Regions from separate parts of the Homo sapiens genome. Here region 2 is linked to region 1. Evidence: promoter capture Hi-C in human tissues and cell types (Jung and others, 2019). All regions are on one chromosome and are shown on one strand. Each heading gives the region's core, a stretch centred on a gene start or on the middle of the fragment in contact. The rest is flanking DNA. Distances are from core to core; before and after follow the strand shown.

What was found. The method cuts DNA at HindIII sites, captures the fragments that hold promoters and counts their contacts. A contact is called where the count stands out against the background at its distance.
Region 2: a contact is called between a fragment that was not itself captured here and the fragment with the promoter of IDH3B in region 1, in 1 of the 25 tissues and cell types used here (dorsolateral prefrontal cortex).

The regions. Positions count from the first base shown.
Region 1 is chr20:2,662,247-2,666,269 of GRCh38, reverse strand. It overlaps IDH3B (isocitrate dehydrogenase (NAD(+)) 3 non-catalytic subunit beta), which reads left to right and starts at 2,054. Exons shown (of 12, transcript NM_006899.5): 1 at 2,054-2,117; 2 at 2,265-2,345; 3 at 2,512-2,610; 4 at 2,704-2,824. The coding sequence starts at 2,082. It overlaps IDH3B-DT (IDH3B divergent transcript), which reads right to left and starts at 1,996. Exons shown (of 3, transcript NR_186432.1): 1 at 1,664-1,996; 2 at 766-1,012. RefSeq lists enhancers at 631-1,416, 2,990-3,777. The HindIII fragment of the contact is 10,496 bases long and covers 1-3,889 here.
Region 2 is chr20:2,481,930-2,485,952 of GRCh38, reverse strand. It overlaps ZNF343 (zinc finger protein 343), which reads left to right. Exons shown (of 6, transcript NM_024325.6): 6 at 1,297-4,023. The coding sequence ends at 2,792. Among named protein-coding and RNA genes, the nearest start is that of SNRPB, 13 kb to the right of the region's middle. The HindIII fragment of the contact is 4,668 bases long and covers 1-4,023 here.

The DNA.
Region 1 (4,023 bases), core at 805-3,304:
GGCGGGGTGCGGTGGCTCATGCCTGTAATCCCAGCACTTTGGGAGGCTGAGGGTGGCAGATCACCTGAGGTCAGGAGCTCAAGACCAGCCTGGCCAACATGGTGAAACCCTGTCTCTAATAAAAATACAAAAATTAGCCGGGTGTGGTGGCGCGTGCCTGTAATCCCAGCTACCAGGGAGGCGGAGGCAGGAAAATCGCTTGAACCCGGGAGGCAGAGGTTATAAATCTTCCATTTTTTTCTTAGTCAGAAGGAGAAATATTTGGAGAAGAAAAATAGTGACGAATATTAATAGTGATGTGGAAGCTGGGACGAGGGAGTCTATGGGAGCAAGACGGTGGTGCTCTCTGGTTTTGGTTGGTTTCATGGGATATATGAATGGAAATAGAGGAGTGTGTTATACTAATATTATATTAGCTATAATAACAGCTCTATATTTACCCAGTACTTTTCATTTGTTCAAAACTCTTACACATTACCTAGTTTAATCTTCTCATCCTACTACTATATAGGAGAATGTCGCACCTAAAGGATTGCAGAGGAGGCACAAAGCCTATGCATATTCCCCAAGAATAGAAGCACTGGGAATGCCTTTGCGTTGCCACCTTTTTGGCTGGTTGAGGTATATACGAAGGAGGAACTTATCACAGAGAACCTAGCTAGTGGTTCTTAAATTTCAGTGTGTATTAACGGGGAGCCTGTTAGAGATATATTTTCTGGGCCCCCATCACTGAGATTTGGATTCAGCAAATGAAGTATGACTCACAAGCCTGCACTTTTAACAAGAGCTCTGGTCCATCTGGATAGGTGATCCAAAACCATACTTCCAGAAGAGCGGGTGAGGCAAATCTTCCTGTACCAGTTTGTCTTTAGGTGTGTCAATTGTACACACCTAAAATCGTGACTGGAGGCCGGGCTTGGTGGCTCACGCCTGTAATCCCAGCACTTTGGGAGGCCGAGGCGGGCGGATCACGACGTCAGGAGATCGAGACCACGGTGAAACCCCGTCTCCACTAAAAATACAAAAAAAAAAAAAAAAAAAAAAAAAAATTAGCCAGGTGTGATGGCGGGCGCTACTCGGGAGGCTGAGGCAGGAGAATGGGGTGAACCCAGGAGGCGGAGCTTGCAGTGAGCCGAGATCGCACCACCGCACTCCAGCCTGGGCGACAGAGCGAGACTCTGTCTCAAAAAAAAAAAAAAAAAAATCGTGACTGTAATTGTTTTGAGACGGGTCTCGCCCCGTCTCCCAGGCTGGAGTGCAGTGGTGCCATCACGGCTCACTACGGCTTCCACCTCCCGGGCTTAAGTGATCCTCCCACCTCAGCCTCCTAAGTAGCTGGGACTACAGGTGTGTCACCACGCCTGGCTAATTTTTAAATTTTTTGTAGAGTCGAGGTCTCCCTATGTTGTCCAGGCTTTTTTTAGTTTTTATGATTGTTACTTTAAGGATCAGTCTGAAATTCCCTTTAGTCACACTTACACGCTTGAACTCATTTCTGACACTAGTTATGGGCCTGTCCTGGGGAGTTCAAGTCCGGGACACACTATTAGGGAAATAACTGTCAGAGCAAAGAACAAAACCCTGTAAGAAAAAACTACGAGGCGACGGGTAATACAGAGGTCCTGGGCACTCTCGGAGACTGGCGGAGAAACCCGACACACACCTCCCATGTCTGTACTGTATTCCTCGAGAGCCTGACATACAGGTATTCAGTGAGTACTGGTTAAAAGAATAACAAACGCATTGACACACAAATTTTAACAGCTTCCCAAGGATTTTCTCTCAATCGCTTGTTAAGCTCAGGTCCTCGTCTGATAAACATGACGCTACATTTTTCCCCCTAATGTTATTTTGAAGTTTCGACGTAGATTAAATATGGCGACTGAAAACAAAGCAAGAGACAAAGTGCTTGCGCATCCCATGACCTCCCCACCGGCAAGGAAAAGGAGAAACAGGCGTGAGCAAGCAGTGCTGGTTGGCGCAGAGAGAGAAATACCAGGAACTCAGTACAGGCCGGAAGTCGGGGTACGGGGCCGCGCCAGCTTCAGGCGTCACTTCCCACGCGACTTCCTGCGGGAAACATGGCGGCATTGAGCGGAGTCCGCTGGCTGACCCGAGTGAGGCCCCGGGACATGTCGGGCAGGGGCGGGCGAAGGAGCGGAGAGTTTGTCCTAGGGTTTCCTAAACAGGGCAAAGTCAACTGTAGTGTTCGGGGTCTGGATGTCTCAAAGCTGACCTTACAGGCTTGTGTGTCCCTGTTGCAGGCGCTGGTCTCCGCCGGGAACCCTGGGGCATGGAGAGGTCTGAGTACCTCGGCCGCGGCGCACGCTGCATCGCGGAGCCAGGTATGCACGAATCTGGCTGGGGTCTCTCTTACGACCCTGTCCCTTCCTCGCTGCTCCCTCCCCTGGCTTTTCCCCACCCCTCCCGGGTCTCCCTACTTCTCTACTCCCAGGATCCGTGCTCCCGCCCCAGCTCTATCTTTACTTCTCCCCTCTTCCCCCAATTGAGGCCGAGGACGTGAGGGTGGAGGGCTCCTTTCCCGTGACCATGCTTCCGGGAGACGGTGTGGGGCCTGAGCTGATGCACGCCGTCAAGGAGGTGTTCAAGGTGAGTGGCCTCGGGGATCAGACAGTAGAGGACAGTAGTGTGTTGGAAAGGACTTGGCCTTGACTGTGATGTTTTGGGAACCTGTCTCTGAAGGCTGCCGCTGTCCCAGTGGAGTTCCAGGAGCACCACCTGAGTGAGGTGCAGAATATGGCATCTGAGGAGAAGCTGGAGCAGGTGCTGAGTTCCATGAAGGAGAACAAAGTGGCCATCATTGGTATGTGTGCCCTCTTGCCACTTGTCCATGTGCCATTTAAAATCAAATGACCAAATGTTTATTAAGCCCTTCTCCCCACATGCTATGCAATTATATTAACTCCAGGGCAACCACCATTGGTATTTGGACATTTGTTCCTTCCCATTGGGAGCCCAGGAGTTGAGAGATCATGTCAGCTGTCTATGCAGAAAAGTTCCAGGGGTTCTGAGTCTGTCCTGAGGCTACATCAACTGTCATCAAATCTTATTCATTGCATTTCTGGAATACCACTTTTAGCTGCCCCTTTTCTTTTTTTTTTTTTCCCCTCCCTTCCTTCCTCTTTGTTTCTTCTTGCTCTGTCGCCCAGGCTGGAGTGCAGTGGCGCGATCTCGGCTCACTGCAACCTCCCCGTCCCTGGTTCAAGCAATTCTCCTGCCTCAGCCTCCTGAGTAGCTGCGACTACAGGTGTGCACCACCACACCCAGCTAATTTTTGTGTTTGTTTTGTTTTAAGACAGAGTCTCGCTCTGTCGCCCAGGCTGGAGTGCAATGTTGCCATCTCAGCTCACTGCAACCTCTGCCTCCCGGGTTCAAGTGATTCTCCTGCCTCAGCCTCCTGAGTAGCTGGCTGGTATTACAGGAGCGTGCCACCATGCCTGGCTAATTTTTGTATTTTTAGTAGAGATGGGGTTTCACCATGTTGGTCAGGCTGGTCTCGAACTCCTGACCTTGTGATCTGCCCGCCTTGGCCTCCCACAGTGCTGGGATTACAAGTGTGAGCCACCATGCCCAGGCTAATTTTTGTATTTTTAGTAGAGAGAGGGTTTTACCATGTTGGCCAGGCTGGTCTCGAACTCTTGACCTCAAGTGATCCACCCACCTCTGCATCCCAAACTGCTGCGATTATAGGCGTGAGCCACCGTGCCTAGCTGCCCCTTTTCTTTTGTCTTCCGCGCTTTAATCTCCTCATTTGATTTTTTTGGCTTCTAGTTCTGCCCCTATAGTTCATCTTCCATATCTCTTCTTGGAAAGAACAGCCTGATTTTCCAGGCCCAGCCTTACCATAGGAAAGTCAGTACTTTATAAGTTGGCCCTTAATTTTCTGCCTTGGTTCCACAACTCTTGTTCTGTGCTTCAATCACACTAGATTGTGTGTTAGATTCCAAATATGTACTACCTGACTTATATTGTTCCCTCCACCCAGAACGTTCTTTCTTTGGT
Region 2 (4,023 bases), core at 553-3,052, 180 kb after region 1:
AACCCAAGTAAACCAAACAGACTCAGGGAGTGCTCAGTGACAGCAAGCAGAGCCTGACAGCTGCTGAGAGCCTCACCCATGGCAAGGCTGCCAGACAAGCAGCTTTGAGCACATACGGCTCAGTCTACACACAGCTGTGTTCCTCTGGCAGTCCAGCAGTTCCAGCACTGGTCGGTGCCTTGTCAGAGCAACCAAAGGGAAAACACATTGTCAAAAACTAAAACAAAGACCACAAAAGGTCAAAAAATCAAATGGCACAAATCATTTACTTAACAGGAAAGGAGACACAGCAGTGAAGAAATTCACTGTATAGTTTGGCAAGGGGGAAAAATAAAAGGTTTTACTGTTAGGGAGCAGTTTCATGATGGTTATGCTAATTAAGGTTTGAAAACTAGCATTCCAGATAGGATAGGATGAGTTTTTAAGGACAGATACAGTTGATTATAAAGATTCCAGTGTTCATTAGTTAGGCAGAAGTCTTCAGTTAGGCCCAGTAGGGTCTGGGGCCAAGTACGTGGTCATTTCTCAGCATCAGTTGGATAGATCATGTTGTGATGAAATGCAACATCTAGTTTTGATATTTTGTAGGCAGGTGCTGCTGTAAATGAAAAGTTTTTCTTTTTACTGATTTATGAAAAGTGGAAAGAAAGGCAGATTTTGTTGTTTTGGCTTGGTGCCAGAATCCTAAAATCATGGACCATGTCTTTCTTGTTCATTACTGAATTCATAATACTTAGTAGAGAACCTAGTACTTTGGCATTTTCTAATAAGTCTTTGTTTACAGGTGGGCAGCCTGAAATTTATATTTGTTTTATATACAATAATTTCTTTAACCAGTATTCCATACACTTTCTCCTACATTCGGAAGCCCTCCAGAATGAGGGACTTTTTATGTCTATCAGACCCTTTTTTATATAATAAGAAAAGTCATGAAGGAGATTTCCACATGTGTCATAGAGACCACTATCTCCAAGCAGAACAAAGAGCTGTGGACAGTATATACCAATGTGAATGTCTATGGCTTAGGAGAAGGCTAACTATGATTGAAGCTGTTTACAGAGCAGAATACTCACTTGAGAGGTTCCTGGTTTCTCAAGATATTTTTGTTATGGATTTTCTGGATTGCAATAGAAAATGTGATGGAATGTAAAGGAATCATTGTTCAGAAGCAAATTGTGTTATACTTATATTATCAATTATAGGCATGGCAGTAAAACATTCTCTGTCCTAAGACAAGGCAGAACAACTCAGCAGCCCTACTTATGGCTACTCTAACAGAAAACTTTCATTCTTCAGCAGAACCAAAGCCAGAAATCTACACTTGTTCCTCCTGCCTTCTGGCCTTCTCCTGTCAGCAGTTCCTCAGTCAACATGTACTTCAGATCTTCCTGGGCTTATGTGCAGAAAATCACTTCCATCCAGGGAATTCTAGCCCAGGGCATTGGAAACAGCAGGGGCAGCAGTATTCCCATGTAAGCTGTTGGTTTGAAAATGCAGAAGGTCAGGAGAGAGGAGGTGGCTCCAAACCCTGGTCTGCAAGGACAGAGGAGAGAGAAACCTCAAGGGCATTCCCCAGCCCACTCCAAAGACAGTCAGCAAGTCCTAGAAAAGGCAACATGGTGGTAGAAACAGAGCCCAGCTCAGCCCAAAGACCAAACCCTGTGCAGCTAGACAAAGGCTTGAAGGAATTAGAAACCTTGAGATTTGGAGCAATCAACTGTAGAGAGTATGAACCGGACCATAACCTGGAATCAAACTTTATTACAAACCCGAGGACCCTCTTAGGGAAGAAGCCCTACATTTGCAGTGATTGTGGGCGAAGCTTTAAAGATAGATCAACCCTCATCAGACACCATCGTATACACTCGATGGAGAAGCCTTATGTGTGCAGTGAGTGCGGGCGAGGTTTTAGCCAGAAGTCCAACCTCAGCAGACACCAGAGAACACATTCAGAAGAGAAGCCTTATTTGTGCAGGGAGTGTGGGCAAAGCTTTAGAAGTAAGTCCATCCTCAATAGACATCAGTGGACTCACTCAGAGGAGAAGCCCTATGTTTGCAGCGAGTGTGGGCGAGGCTTTAGCGAGAAGTCATCCTTCATCAGACACCAGAGGACACACTCCGGTGAGAAACCCTATGTGTGCCTGGAGTGTGGACGAAGCTTTTGTGATAAGTCAACCCTCAGAAAACACCAGAGGATACACTCAGGGGAGAAGCCTTATGTTTGCAGGGAGTGTGGGCGAGGCTTTAGCCAGAACTCAGATCTCATCAAACACCAGAGGACACACTTGGATGAGAAGCCTTATGTTTGCAGGGAGTGTGGGCGAGGCTTTTGTGACAAGTCAACCCTCATCATACACGAGCGGACGCACTCTGGAGAGAAGCCTTATGTGTGTGGTGAGTGTGGCCGAGGCTTTAGTCGGAAATCACTCCTCCTTGTCCACCAGAGGACACACTCAGGGGAGAAGCATTATGTCTGCAGGGAGTGTAGGCGAGGTTTTAGCCAGAAGTCAAATCTCATCAGACACCAGAGGACGCACTCAAATGAGAAGCCTTATATTTGCAGGGAATGTGGGCGAGGCTTTTGTGACAAGTCAACCCTCATTGTACATGAGAGGACACACTCAGGAGAGAAGCCTTACGTGTGCAGTGAGTGTGGCCGAGGCTTTAGCCGGAAATCACTCCTCCTTGTCCACCAGAGGACACACTCAGGGGAGAAGCATTATGTTTGTAGGGAGTGTGGGCGAGGCTTTAGTCATAAGTCAAATCTCATCAGACACCAGAGGACACACTGACGGGAGAAACCTGTGTATGCAGGGGTCATGAACAAGACCTGAGTGACCAGTCAAGCCTCATGTTACCCCAGAGAGACACATGGGGAGTAGACCCTGTGTACACAGATTGTGAGTGAAGTTCCAGAGATGTGTCAGCCCTTATCAGGCATGGGAGGGACACGTTCAGGAGAGGAGCCTTATGAGTATAGAGTACGGGCAACTGTAGCCATCAGTCAGCCTTGAGCATGCACAAAAGGACACACTTAGGAGAGAAGTTTATGTGTAGGGACTGTGGGAAGGCTTTAGCAATAATCAACATTTACCAGACATCCAATGACAGCCTCAGGGGAAAGCACCCTTGTCTGGGGAGTGTTGGGGAGCATCAGTAAAAGAATGGACACTCAGGCACAGAGTGGCCCTCAGGAAGGAGGTCTTTGTTTGTAGGATGTATGGGCAAAGCTTTTGTGATCACACACCACAGGGAGAATCTGCATGTGGGGACACTGTGGAGCTCTGCCCAGATGACCTTTTCAGGGGTAACACCCCAGCTGCTTGAGAGAACAGTGTTGCTGCTGGCAGAGATGCATTCCAGAGATGCACTCCGCTCTGGAACTCACTCTCAGCCACAGGGAGCTGCATGCACCACAGGGGCAATGCACCTTTGCAGGGGTACCTTCTGGCCCCAACCCTTGACTCAACGGGGACAACTCCAGAAGGTCATTCCAGATCCAGAGATCCCCATCGAACTGAAGGATCACTGGGTTGCAGACACATTGCAGGTCAGCTTCTTCCTCTGCCCAGTCCTGCCCTCACTCCCCAGTGAATCCTCAATTTTCTGTCTCGTTGTCTGTCCAGATAATTGATTCTAAGACATGTTAGGTATATAAGGAGTGTAGATAAGGCTTCAGCCATGAGTCACCCCGCAGTAAGCCCCAGAGTATATTGAATAGAAATTCTGCATGTGTGGGGAGAATGGACAAGGACTTAGGAAAAAGTCCTCATCAAAGAACAGCTTTTTTGGGACAAGCTTTACATGGGTGGGGAGGGAAAATGTGAAACACATTAGCAATAAGTTAAACCTCATCTTGTACTAAAGGAGGACACACTCAGGGAGAAGACCTCTGTGGGCAGGGCTTGTGGGTGGAGCTTCATCCCGATGTCACTCCTCAACTGACTTAGGAGGACAGTCTTGCTACCCCAAGTCACTACCTCACTCACCTCTGAGGGATTTTCAGGAAATGTCTTGACTCCC